Regions from separate parts of the Homo sapiens genome. Here all the other regions are linked to region 2. The links are contacts of gene promoters, found by promoter capture Hi-C in blood cells and fetal thymus (Javierre and others, 2016). All regions are on one chromosome and are shown on one strand. The core of a region is centred on a gene start or on the middle of the fragment in contact, and the rest is flanking DNA. Distances in the headings are between cores, read along the strand shown. Region 1 overlaps FOXP1 (forkhead box P1). Region 2 holds the start of FOXP1 (forkhead box P1). Region 3 overlaps FOXP1 (forkhead box P1). Region 4 overlaps FOXP1 (forkhead box P1).

What was found. Contacts are between HindIII fragments. The CHiCAGO score rates a contact against its expected background, and 5 or more counts as called.
Region 1: a fragment that was not itself captured here is called in contact with the fragment with the promoter of FOXP1 in region 2 in 1 of 17 cell types (naive B cells); the score reaches 5.1 in naive B cells.
Region 3: a fragment that was not itself captured here is called in contact with the fragment with the promoter of FOXP1 in region 2 in 1 of 17 cell types (neutrophils); the score reaches 5.1 in neutrophils.
Region 4: a fragment that was not itself captured here is called in contact with the fragment with the promoter of FOXP1 in region 2 in 1 of 17 cell types (total B cells); the score reaches 6.5 in total B cells.

The regions. Positions count from the first base shown.
Region 1 is chr3:71,382,514-71,385,213 of GRCh38, reverse strand. The region is part of intron 3 of FOXP1 (forkhead box P1); the gene reads left to right. Among named protein-coding and RNA genes, the nearest start is that of FOXP1-AS1, 94 kb to the right of the region's middle. The HindIII fragment of the contact is 1,750 bases long and covers 455-2,204 here.
Region 2 is chr3:71,582,262-71,584,991 of GRCh38, reverse strand. FOXP1 (forkhead box P1) reads left to right here and starts at 1,264. Exons shown (of 21, transcript NM_001349338.3): 1 at 1,264-1,421. FOXP1-DT (FOXP1 divergent transcript) reads right to left here and starts at 49. Exons shown (of 1, transcript NR_182289.1): 1 at 1-49. RefSeq lists an enhancer at 780-1,074 and a silencer at 1,152-1,391. The HindIII fragment of the contact is 2,384 bases long and covers 7-2,390 here.
Region 3 is chr3:71,430,314-71,433,037 of GRCh38, reverse strand. The region is part of intron 3 of FOXP1 (forkhead box P1); the gene reads left to right. Among named protein-coding and RNA genes, the nearest start is that of MIR1284, 110 kb to the left of the region's middle. The HindIII fragment of the contact is 4,303 bases long and covers 1-2,724 here.
Region 4 is chr3:71,346,430-71,349,188 of GRCh38, reverse strand. The region is part of intron 4 of FOXP1 (forkhead box P1); the gene reads left to right. It overlaps LOC124906248 (a long non-coding RNA gene), which reads right to left. Exons shown (of 4, transcript XR_007095957.1): 2 at 2,551-2,630. Among named protein-coding and RNA genes, the nearest start is that of FOXP1-AS1, 58 kb to the right of the region's middle. The HindIII fragment of the contact is 1,241 bases long and covers 886-2,126 here.

The sequences.
Region 1 (2,700 bases), core at 80-2,579, 200 kb after region 2:
GGGTTGGTATGTCTCTCCTTTGCAAATCCATTCATCTGCCGAAATGCATATGAGAAGCATTGCTTTTGCCAATGAAGGATTGCAGTTAGGATTTTTTTTTTTTTTTACTTCCTTTTCCCGTGCCCCTTCTTAATTACTAAGAAGGTTAACAGCACACACTTCAGGGTCACTGATGTTGTGTTGTGTTCTGTTTTTGTTTTTCCTGTAGCCAAAGAAATGCTGTATTATTGCTCAAGTCTGTTTTGTGTTGTTGATTGAAGGGCTGAGAGAGTGCCCGTTTCTTTTTCTTTCAAGATACCACTAAGTGATTTCCTTTCAGGGTTCTAGAAAATGTGTCACCCTGACAAAAATTGCCTTCCCATGCTAGTAGCCTTAAGCTTCTACTTCTTAATTCCTTACATGGCCATTTCCTAAATGGTTAGAGTTATTTGGAACACCTTAAAATTAAAAAGCTTTCATTGCCACCCACTCCACCACTCAGACTGCCAGTGATATGAAATTCACCTGAACCCTTTACAGTTGGTGACAATTGTTTTAGGAAAATATATGTGATAAGATGCTGCAGGTCCTCATACCAGTGTCAACTCAGAATGTCGTTCACATTTCTTCTGAGAGTCTCCAATTGGCCACATTACTGAGAGCTTTGTCATAATGCTTTAAGTCATTTATCAGCTGAGGTCACTTTGACTTTTGAGATTCTAATAAAATTGGCTTGAACTTTTATCTTATACCCTGTGGGAATTCCAATGAGCATTTCTGGAGGCTTTGTTTTCGTGGTGGATTTTTGTTAGAGAACTCTTGATATTCCTTGTTTCCGTTGCTTTTCTCTCTTCTCTCAGAGTTAGAAATTAGCTTCTTTCCACAATTTCCTTCCACACAGCTCACACAGACCGTGGAAGTTTAGGGAGTTGGAGGAAGTTTGCATCAGAGAAATTTGGAAGGATGTTTAACAGCCTGTTTGTTTGTTGGTTTGTTTGTTTGTTTGTTTGTTTGTTTTGCTGAGACGGAGTCCCACTCTGTTGCCCAGATTGCAACGGGCGATCTCAGCTCACTGCAACCTCCACCTCTGGGGGTTCAAGCGATTCTCCTGCCTCAGCCTCCCACATAACTGGGACTACAGGCTTACACCACCATGCCTGGCTAATTTTTTTGTATTTTTAGTAGAGGCAGGGTTACACCACGTTGGCCAGGCTGGTCTGGGACTCCTGCCTCAGGTGATCCGCCCACCTCAGCCTCCCAAAGTGCTGGGATTACAGGCGTGAGCCACCGCGCCCGCCAGCCTTGTATGTTTGCACATACATAGTTGTCTCTGAAGAGCTTTCTCTATACATCATGACCTCCAAATTGCCTGACTTACCCTCTTTTATCTATCTTCTCACCTCTCATTCTTCTGGTTTCTGTTACCAACTCATGTTTCTTAAAAACGGCAATTTAGTTTTCTCTTTCTGTCTCACCATTTCCTTCCAAACCAGGTTCAAGGGGGCCTGGTCTTCCATGTTTCAAGCGATGTGTCAAGGATGAGCTGACTAGTAAAATGATCTTTTTAGTTAAGTACATGTGCACAGACACCCCTGCTTTTTCTCCCTCCACTCTCTCTCCCATAAATGTAGCAAAAACTGAAGCTACTTTGCATAGAAAAAGACATATTAAGGTTTTACCTATTTTGACTGGACCTGCCACCCTCTATTCTTTTCATGTATTTCCCTTTAATCAAATAGGTTGATTCAAAGTGCATGCCCTAAATACCAACATTTTCTCATTGATACTTATTTTCTGATACTAGACCAACAATGTCTGCCCTAAATCCTAGGGCCCAAAACCAAAATCTCAGCCTCACAGCATTTTATTGTTGCCATTGGTTATGCAGTCTTCCTTGTAAAGTTTGACACTTTATATGTCATTCTTTAATCGAGTCTTCTCTGATAATGAATTCTTCCCCTTCCCCTAGAAATTAAGGATGCCAAAGAAAGGGTAAAGTGGTGCTGTTTGATGCAGAGCTAGCGGAAAGCATTTGCTGTTAGAGAGCCACCTGGAGCTGGCCCATCTTCTCATGTCAGTTTACCATAATAATGTCAGCCAGCATGGGTATCTCATAATTAGATGAGGAACATCAGGCAGTTTCCTGATGGTGTTATCTTTCATAGTTTTCACAGTGATGTTCCTGACTTGGTGTTACAAAAACTCTGAAAAACATCTACCAAGCTTGAAGTGCACCCTTATTGGTTATTTTTCAAGTTCTCATACCCACACCTAAATATGTAAGATGTATTTCTCATCAGAACAGTGGCTCCCAAGGCCTGGGATCCCCAAACCCCAGGAGATGCCGTCAAAGGATTAGAAGATGCCATCCAAGGATTAGAAGATGCCGTCAAAGGATTAGAAGATGTTATCCTGGTGTTTTTCAGTATTTAAATTAGGATGAGTTTGATTGTACTCAACAGAAAGTCCAGTAAAGGCAGGCTTAAAGAGTGTCACTGGCAAGTCCTTAGTAGGTAGGCTGCAGGAGAGACTTGATCCAGCTCTCTGCTCTGCTTTTCATGGTGTTGGCTTATCTTCAGAGTGGCCCTATTTGCAGTCTTAAGATGATTCCTAGCAACTGTCAAGCTGTAGATTTCCTTGCACATGTGAAGCAGGAGAGTGGAAAAGGGAATATTTTCTTAGGATTTTCAGAAAAATTCTTGAAACTCTAGTTGGACTTGT
Region 2 (2,730 bases), core at 15-2,514:
AAAGCTTTTTGCACGTGACTGATCACTGGGAGAGCAGGTAATTTGTGTTAAACAACGGACTGACATGCTAGCCCCCAGGCGTTTTCCTAAGAGGAGTCGTGGCAAGAACACAGTTCCTGATGCAGCCACCTTCCCCCAAAGTGGACTCGATTGCACATTCCTGCAGTGGCTCTGACAAGGGGGCAGAAGCTCGTCCCACATTCACACTCTCCTGATTCCGAGAAACAGGGGAGAAAACCCCTCGCTGGCTGGCGGGGTTTCTGTTTCCTTGCAAACAGGGGTTTGTCCTTCTGCTGAACTTTCACCTCCCGAACTCGCCTTCTTTCATTGGACAAAGTGCAGAAAGAAAGAGGAGAGACCGAGGGAGGACGGGAGAGAGGGAGAAAGGGGGTTGAAAACACCACCTCCCACCCCGCTCTCCTTCAACTGTCACTGATGGCAAAACACTTTCACTTTTAACTGGAGGAAACTCACATTCTAGCCTGTCCTCTCCCCTCCCTTTCATATTTTTAGCTCAGAATCCAAGCAAATAGCCATCGCATTCCCATCTTCGTCCCTAGTTAACACTCTCCCTTCTCGTTTTTTCCGCTGTCTGAATGGGCCCCCCATTTCCCATCTCCTGAGGAATCTCCCCCTCCGCCCCCCTGCCCCTTATTTTCCAGGTCTTTCCTGCCAGATCCCTCTGTTGCCAGGGACTGCTCTGGCGTTCCCTTCCTCTCTCTGGTCCGCGGGGCTCTGCCTCCCTCTCCTCTTTCCAATCCTGCCTGGACGCCCCTCACTTCCCCCTCCCTGGATCCCTCCCCCCAACCCCCCCCCCCATTCTTTGGCAATTGCGATTTTTTTTTTCTGGGAGCCCGGTTGTTTACCCAGCAGGTGGATGTGACGTCAGGGACGCACAACAGCAAAAAATAACAACATCTCCCTCCGCGACGTGTTGGCCTCTCTCGCGCGCCTTATTTATTTATTTGTTCCGGGATGTCGGGGGGGAGGGGGGAGGGAGGAGGGGGGTGGGCGCCAGCGCCCCGGCGAACGGCAAAGAGGGAGCCGCTCCCGCTCGGGGGGCCGCTGGAGTGCCCAGCGGGGTGCGTGAAGCGGAGAGGGGACCCCTGCGGGAGGTAGAGGGTCGGGCCGGGGTGCGCCCCCGGGCCGGTGCTGCCCGCGCCTCTGCCGCCGCCGCCGCCGCCACCGGCGCTGGCTGGGCTCCGGGAAGCTAGTCCGGAGCGGAGGAATCTATTGTTATTTATTGTGTGGCGGTTGCACGCTGTACTCGCGGCGGCCCGGCCCTCGCCCGGGAGTGCGTGTGTGCGCGCGTGTGTGCGCGAGTGAGTGTGTGCGCGGGGTGCGCGCGCGGGCGGGAGTGGGCGCGCGCGGGGAAAGGCCCGAAAACACCTTAGTTTGCACCGAGAGACCATTTGCAGCGGGTGAGTTTGTATTTTTCCATTTCTGCTCCACTTTTTCCCAAGCCGCCTCCTGTCTTGTTTCCGCCACTTTAAACAACAACAACAACCAGCACAAAAAAAAAAAAAGAAAGAAAGAAAAAGAGAAAAAAAATGGAAAAAAAAAAACAACTACTTTCCACCTCCAGGCTCCACGTGCATCTCCCCCAGCCCTCCCCTCTCTTCCTCTCCCCCCCGGGTCGAGGCCCAGCTCTGGGATGGGTGGGGGCTGCGGGCCGGCGCGCGGGTGGAGGGAGCTCCGGCGGCGCCCGCACCCTTTGGGTTTATTTGCATAAGTCAAATGGGGGCGGGGGCGGTGGCGACTGTGAGGAGGCGAGATCGCCTGCCCGTAGGCCCCTTCACGCCTCTCTCTGCGCTCTCCACGATCGCCTAGGGGAGAGAAATCAATAAGCCCAGGCCGCCTGGCGCAACTTTCGATGTCCGGCGTTGGCGTCCGGTGGCCGCCCGGGCGCGGGGCCGGTGCGGGGTCCCGGGTCCTGGCCGCGGCGGGAGGGGGCGCGCGCCGGGCGCCTCCTAGGCCCAAAGTTTAGACTTGGAGCAAACTTTTCCCCTTCTTTCCCCGCGGGTGTGTGCCCCCTCGGTGCCCTTGAGCTGCCCCGCGGGCCCCAGCAAACTGACTGTGGTGCCTGGCCCTGGGCCCCGCACTGGGGAACTTCCCCGCTGCCACGCGCGCGTTACCCCGAGAGTCAGCGGCGAGGAAGCTCTCCCGCCACCCCCTCGGAGCCCGGAAAATTCAAACACGCACCTGCGCACCCCCAGCCAGACACGCACCCCTACGCGCGCTCGGCCTCCGCTTTCCCGAGACGAGTCCGCAACAGCCGTGGCCAGATCCACGGGTGGGTGCGGGAGCCGGATGCGCTGCGAGGAGTCGCCGCGCCCGGATCTCTCTCCCACCATCACACACATTTTCTGATTTTACCCCCCTCTGAAGCTTGGGGGACGGGGAGATTTCCCAAGCTCCGATTTGTCCTGCGTCGCGCGCGTGTCGCCTCGTCCCTCCGGCCCTGTCCTGGCGGCCGATGGCTCTCCGTCCCTCGCTTGCGCGCAGCCTTCCTCCCGAGCTCCCTGCGCTCTATTCCTGTCCCGCCGAGACGACTCCCTGGAGCCAGCGAGCCGAGGCGGCGTGCGCTTCGAGTGGGGACCACGGCGGTGGCGGCGGCGCCGGGAGCCGAGGAGTTTGCCAGTTGCCGCGGGGTCGCGGTCATTTGCTGCCTCCGCCTTCCCTCGCCCCCGCCTCCCGCCTCCCTCCTTTTCAGACAACGTCGCGCTCGGA
Region 3 (2,724 bases), core at 60-2,559, 150 kb after region 2:
TTTAACACCAAAAGATCCAAGAAGACCAAGCAGGTACAAAATGATCAGGGTGTTCTAACCATTAGAATCATTCAAATTATTTTGTCTGTCTTAAAGCTCAGACTCTGGTATATCCTTGGAAACATTGCAAAGAATAGTTCCTCAGCCAAATCATGGGGCTTTTTTTTTTAATTTTTTTTTTTTTTTTTTTTAACATGTTCACATTTCCTGTCAGTGTTAAGTGTCGAACTGCTTTGAAGGCTTGACTTAGGAGCTCCACACTTAAGCCTGAAAATGAATGTAAATGCTGTAAATGCTGAGTTCTGCTTCTTTGGATGGGGGGGATAGGGTGCTTGGGGATGGGGTGAAGCGATCATGAGTAGCGCTGGTGATCTGATCCCAGGATTCTGGTGCTGCAGGCGCCCAGGGTGTTAGGCCCAAACCCTTTGAAGCCACAACTGAGACACTGGAGCCAGCCCAGGCCCTGCCCTATGTTAGGTGGGGCGTAGCCTAGGGGACCTGGTGGAATAGGAGCAGATTATTAGACTGGGAGGGACAGGAAAAGGAAGCGTCCAAAGGGAGAGAAGAATGAGGGTCATTGGGCCAGGGCCCGGGAGGGGTGCGTCAATTGTGCTTTGAATGTAGGGAGGGGTGCAAGGTCAGAAGCTGGTTCAGGGGTGGTGAGGCAGGGAAGGGGAAGGGGAAAATGCTCTGTGCAGGGCCGGGGAGGAGATGGAAAAATCAACTCGATGGGTGCAGGAAAGTAGCAAAAGGGAATATTCTGCGTCTGTGCTGGGCTGCCGTTCCCGGCCACGACAAGGTCAGCCGTGAGAAGTCTATGCACACCACAGTCGTCAGTGGTTGATCTCTGCATATCTCAATCCATCCTAGTTGCTTAGTGCTCTGTGGGAATGGAAGTTCTTGAGGACACTGATGTCAGCGTCTGCTTTCTCTAAAGAGTGCTCCTGGCACATTGTTTGGCCCTTAAGAAATTCTTGCCATAAATAGGTTTTCAAAGACTAGCAGCCTTAAGGGATCCTGCAGCTTGGTCATAGGTTCTCTCTGCTTCTCTGATGGTTCAGATGCAACACAGAATGACACCCAGGGGCAACACGGCAACAGGAATTGCACATATGATGGTGTTTAAATTTAGTCTTTTTAAAAAAATCACTCTATAGCTTTGGTTTTCCATAGACACTACACAATGAAGTCAGAATAAATACCTGGAAAGAAAAATAAAGTCAGGAAAAAGCCAGGAGGCCTGGATTCTGAATTTGACCCAAGGTCATCGGGTGACTTGGAAAAGTTAGTCTCCATTCGTCTTTGGTGTGTTTTGTTGCCTGTGAAATGAGTTTGCAGGTAGGAGTTCTGAAGTTTCTATTAACTTTAGCAAATACCTTTGGAAATATGTTTAGTTGTAGTAAGTATTCAAACCAGGCAATGGGGCTGTGTGGGACCAGATGGACCAGGGTTTGAATCTCTGCTTCGCCACTTACTTGGTTCGCGACCCTGGAAAATTACCAGATCTCTTGGACCCTCAGGTTTTCTATCTGTAAATTGGGCAAAAGTCATGGTAAGAATTGAGTGCCTGAAGCTCGTAGCTTAGCTAAGTGCCTAGCATGGTATGAGCACTGAGTCATCCAGGCCAGCTCTTATTAGGAGTATTCACTGGAGTGAAAAGTTAAGTCGCTGAGAAAACCACACAGGTACTTCCTGGGCAAGCATCTTCTCACACATTGCCACTTATTCTCGCACTCTGTCTATGGAGAATAAGGCTTCCTCATCCATGAAGCCTTCCCTGATTTCCTGCCCACCAACCAGAGAACGGCCACTGAACTCTGCTCCCATTGGAGATTTGTGATACTCCTCAAGAGTGGATTCCTTTTGTCTGTGCTGTCTTTGCATGGCTCATTTGCAGATCGACCTGCCTCCCTAGATTGCCTGAGCTTGCTGCATGCACGCAAGGGACATGTCCACCGGCTCATCTTCCACCACTCACCTCCCTGCCTGGTTCTGTCCACCATGCACCTTCTAAATGCTTTGTTGCAGTAAAATCAAAGTGGTGGGGTAGAATGTCTAGGAAAGTGTTTCATATAAATTGGAGGGGCCCATTGGTACAGGTGCCATATTTCCCGGTGGTTGTGGCTACTGCGTTGCTCTAAAGTCAGTGACCTGTAAGGCCTTCCCCTGTGGCCATTCTTGCCATAGAAACATGGGCCTGCCCCCCGCCGCCTCCCCTCCCCCAACAGCCCATGAGTTTGGGTGACAGACACCATAAGGCAGAGTTTAAGCCTCTTTTCCAACGTGGCAGAATGAGATGCTTTCTCTCTTTATTTTCCTAGAATCTGGGCAGGTAGTTTCCTCTTTTAGGGATAAGTCTGGGAGCTTGAAGTATAGAAGACCCTGAGATTGAAAATTTAAAATTCAATGTTGTTTTAAATCAAAGCAGGTTAAATAAGGAACCAAATAATTTCTAGAATAAATGGTAAAGAATGGACCCTACTGTAAGTGAAGTAACATGCGGATGACTCCTGTTTTTTTTTTTTCTTTCTTTCCTCTTGAACTTGGGATCCCTGCATATCACAGACAAGCATCAAAACCCAAGATTCAAATCTGTTACTGAATCCATTCCAGAAAAGTGGGGAAAAGCTACCAATTTGTCATCTGTTATAAAATTTCATAACCTTTCTTTTTCTGATATTTTGTACTATTATTCATTCGGCTTGCAATACTGCACCAGATTTG
Region 4 (2,759 bases), core at 257-2,756, 240 kb after region 2:
TTAAGGCTTGGAAATTATAGCTGATTTAATACCTTGATTATACAAATATGATGGATGCATTGCATTTTTATTTAAGCATAATTTAGTGTAGTGGCACATGGTTATATTCCAATTCTGACCACAGTGGCCTCTGATGTTGGAGTTACTTATAGAAGTGAAACTTGACTGTGTTGGGGCAGAATTAGTGGGCTACATTAGGCTGGCTTTGTTTTATAGCTGAAGGCATTGATGGTTATTAAATAGACTGCGGCCTCTGTAGTCCGGTCTCTTGTCTAATGGTTCATCATCACTTAAGGGAAGTTGGGGTATCAAAAACTTGCTTGCTTCTTCCATGTTCATCTCTGCCTACCTTCTTTACTTTCTTAGCACACATAACAGTTAGCATTGTGGAAGGTGAACAGACAAACACAGAGTAATTTTCCAGACTTGGTGAATCCTAAAACCTGTGTTAATTACCCCTCAAGATTCTGTCTAGTATCAATAACATTCAAATGATAGCACCTCCCCCTTTACTCCCTCCTCTGCTCGACACACACACCTGCATGTGTGACTTATACACACATGCATATGCGTGTGCACACACATACACACCTGCATGTGTGACTTATACACACATGCATATGCGTGCGCGCGCGCACGCACACACACACACACACACACACACACGCACACACACACACACTGAACACAGCAACTGGCACCTGGGAGGTGTTTAATAGGTATTTGTTGAAGACTAGTGGGTGGAAAAGATGAAACACCAACAGCCTCCCACTCCAAGCTTCTAAGCTGCTCTTAGCCTGGTCCAACATCTGGGACCCTGTTTGATATTACAACTGTTGGAATAAATGGAGTTCATGAATTTAGTATTTATTCTTTCAATAAGCTTACTGAAGTCTGGCCTTTATGAATTGCTGTGTTCTAGTTCTACGGGAAATAGATAAATCAAAGAGAGAAAATACAGTAGTTTCCCCTTATCCATGGTTTCACTTTCTGTGATTTCAGTTACCAGCAGTCAATGATGGTCTGAAAATAAGTGAGTACAGTACAAGAAAATAGTTAGAGAGAGAGAGACCACATTCACATAACTTCTATTACAGTATTGTTAAAATTGTCCTATGTTATTTGTTATCATTAATCTCTTACTGTGCCTAATTTATAAATTAAACTTTTTCATAGGTGTACATGTATAGGAATACACATCATATGTATAGGGTTCAGTACTAATCATGGTTTTGGGCATCCACCGGGGCTCTTGGACTGTATCCCTGTGTATAATGAGGGACAACTCTGTTTTTTTTTTTTGTGAGACAGAGTTTTGCTCTTGTTGCTGAGCCGGAGTTCGGTGGCACGATCTCTGCTCACTGCAACCTCCGCCTCCCATGTTCAAGCGATTCTCTTGCCTCAGCCCTCCGAGTAGCTGGAATTACAGGCATGGGTCACCACGCCTGGCTAATTTTGTATTTTTAGTAGAGACGGGGTTTCTCTATGTTGGTCAGGCTGGTCTCGAACCCCCGACCTCAGGTGATCCACCCACCTCGGCTTCCCAAAGTGCTGGGATTACAGGCATGAACCACCTCCCCCAGCCGACTCTGTTCTTTACATTCAGCAAACTCAGTATCTTGTTGATTGATGATATTGACATGACCCTAGGCCAGAAATAGTAAACCTTAGTTCTTCAGTTTTATTCAGTGCTAGCATGTAGTTTATGCAAAACCAGCTTTTCTAAATCTAGAAGGCTCTGGCTCTGCTGATATTGATGGTAGAGGCAGAAGTTTGTTTAAGTCAGAATGGAAGTGGAGGTTTTTATGAATTTGATTATTTTATCTTAATTAGGAACATTTAATAATAATTATGGGTGACTTTCATTTTGGAGCAGGTATGGCTGGTTGTTCAAAGGTAAAGTGATGTTTTGAGCTGTAATTTGACGGATCTGAATGACAGTCAGCCTGAATAATTCAGCTTCCTACTAGCTTCCCTACCACCCCATTCCTTCTTAAAGAAAGAACCAAATAAGGAATTTTTTAAAACCCAAACCATTCTGGATTCTATTAATTCTTATAGTTACTTTCAAAGGAGCAGTTTGAGAGAAAGATGCGGTCTGGGACATTTATATGTGAGGTAAAGCTTTCAACCCATTAGAACATTAATTTTTTTGAGATGGAGTCTTGCTCTGTTGCCAGGCTGGAGTGCAATGGTGGTGCGATCTTGGCTAACTGCAACCTCCATGTCCCGGGTTCAAGTGATTCTCCTGCCTCAGCCTCCCTGAGGCAGGTGCGTGCCACCACGCCCAGCTAATTTTTGTAATTTTAGTAGAGACGGGTTTCACCATGTTAGCCAGGATAGTCTCTATCTCTTGACCTCATGATCCACCCGCCTCGGCCTCATTAATTTTTTTTAATGGGGCTTTAGTTGCCTAAATAATATGTGTATTATATAAAGTCTTGCTAATAGAGCAAGAGAACCCTCTGGAAAAAAAACTGCCTAAGGAATGAGATAAGAACTGAAGTCTGCTTGGGTTTTCAAGCATCCCTTGAGATGGAAAAGTCTTACCCCGCATCCGTGGTCCTCAAGAAGCCATAAAGGCAACATTAGGAAACTTTCTCGATTAGGTGCTTCCTTAGTGAATAGGTCTGTGGATAGAAGCAAGCAGACTTATTATAAGGTTGGATACTATACTATTACTGTGTGGTTGTATTAATTAAATTTATTCCTTTAAAATAACCTTGGATGAAAACAACCACCTCTTCTGTGGTCATGGT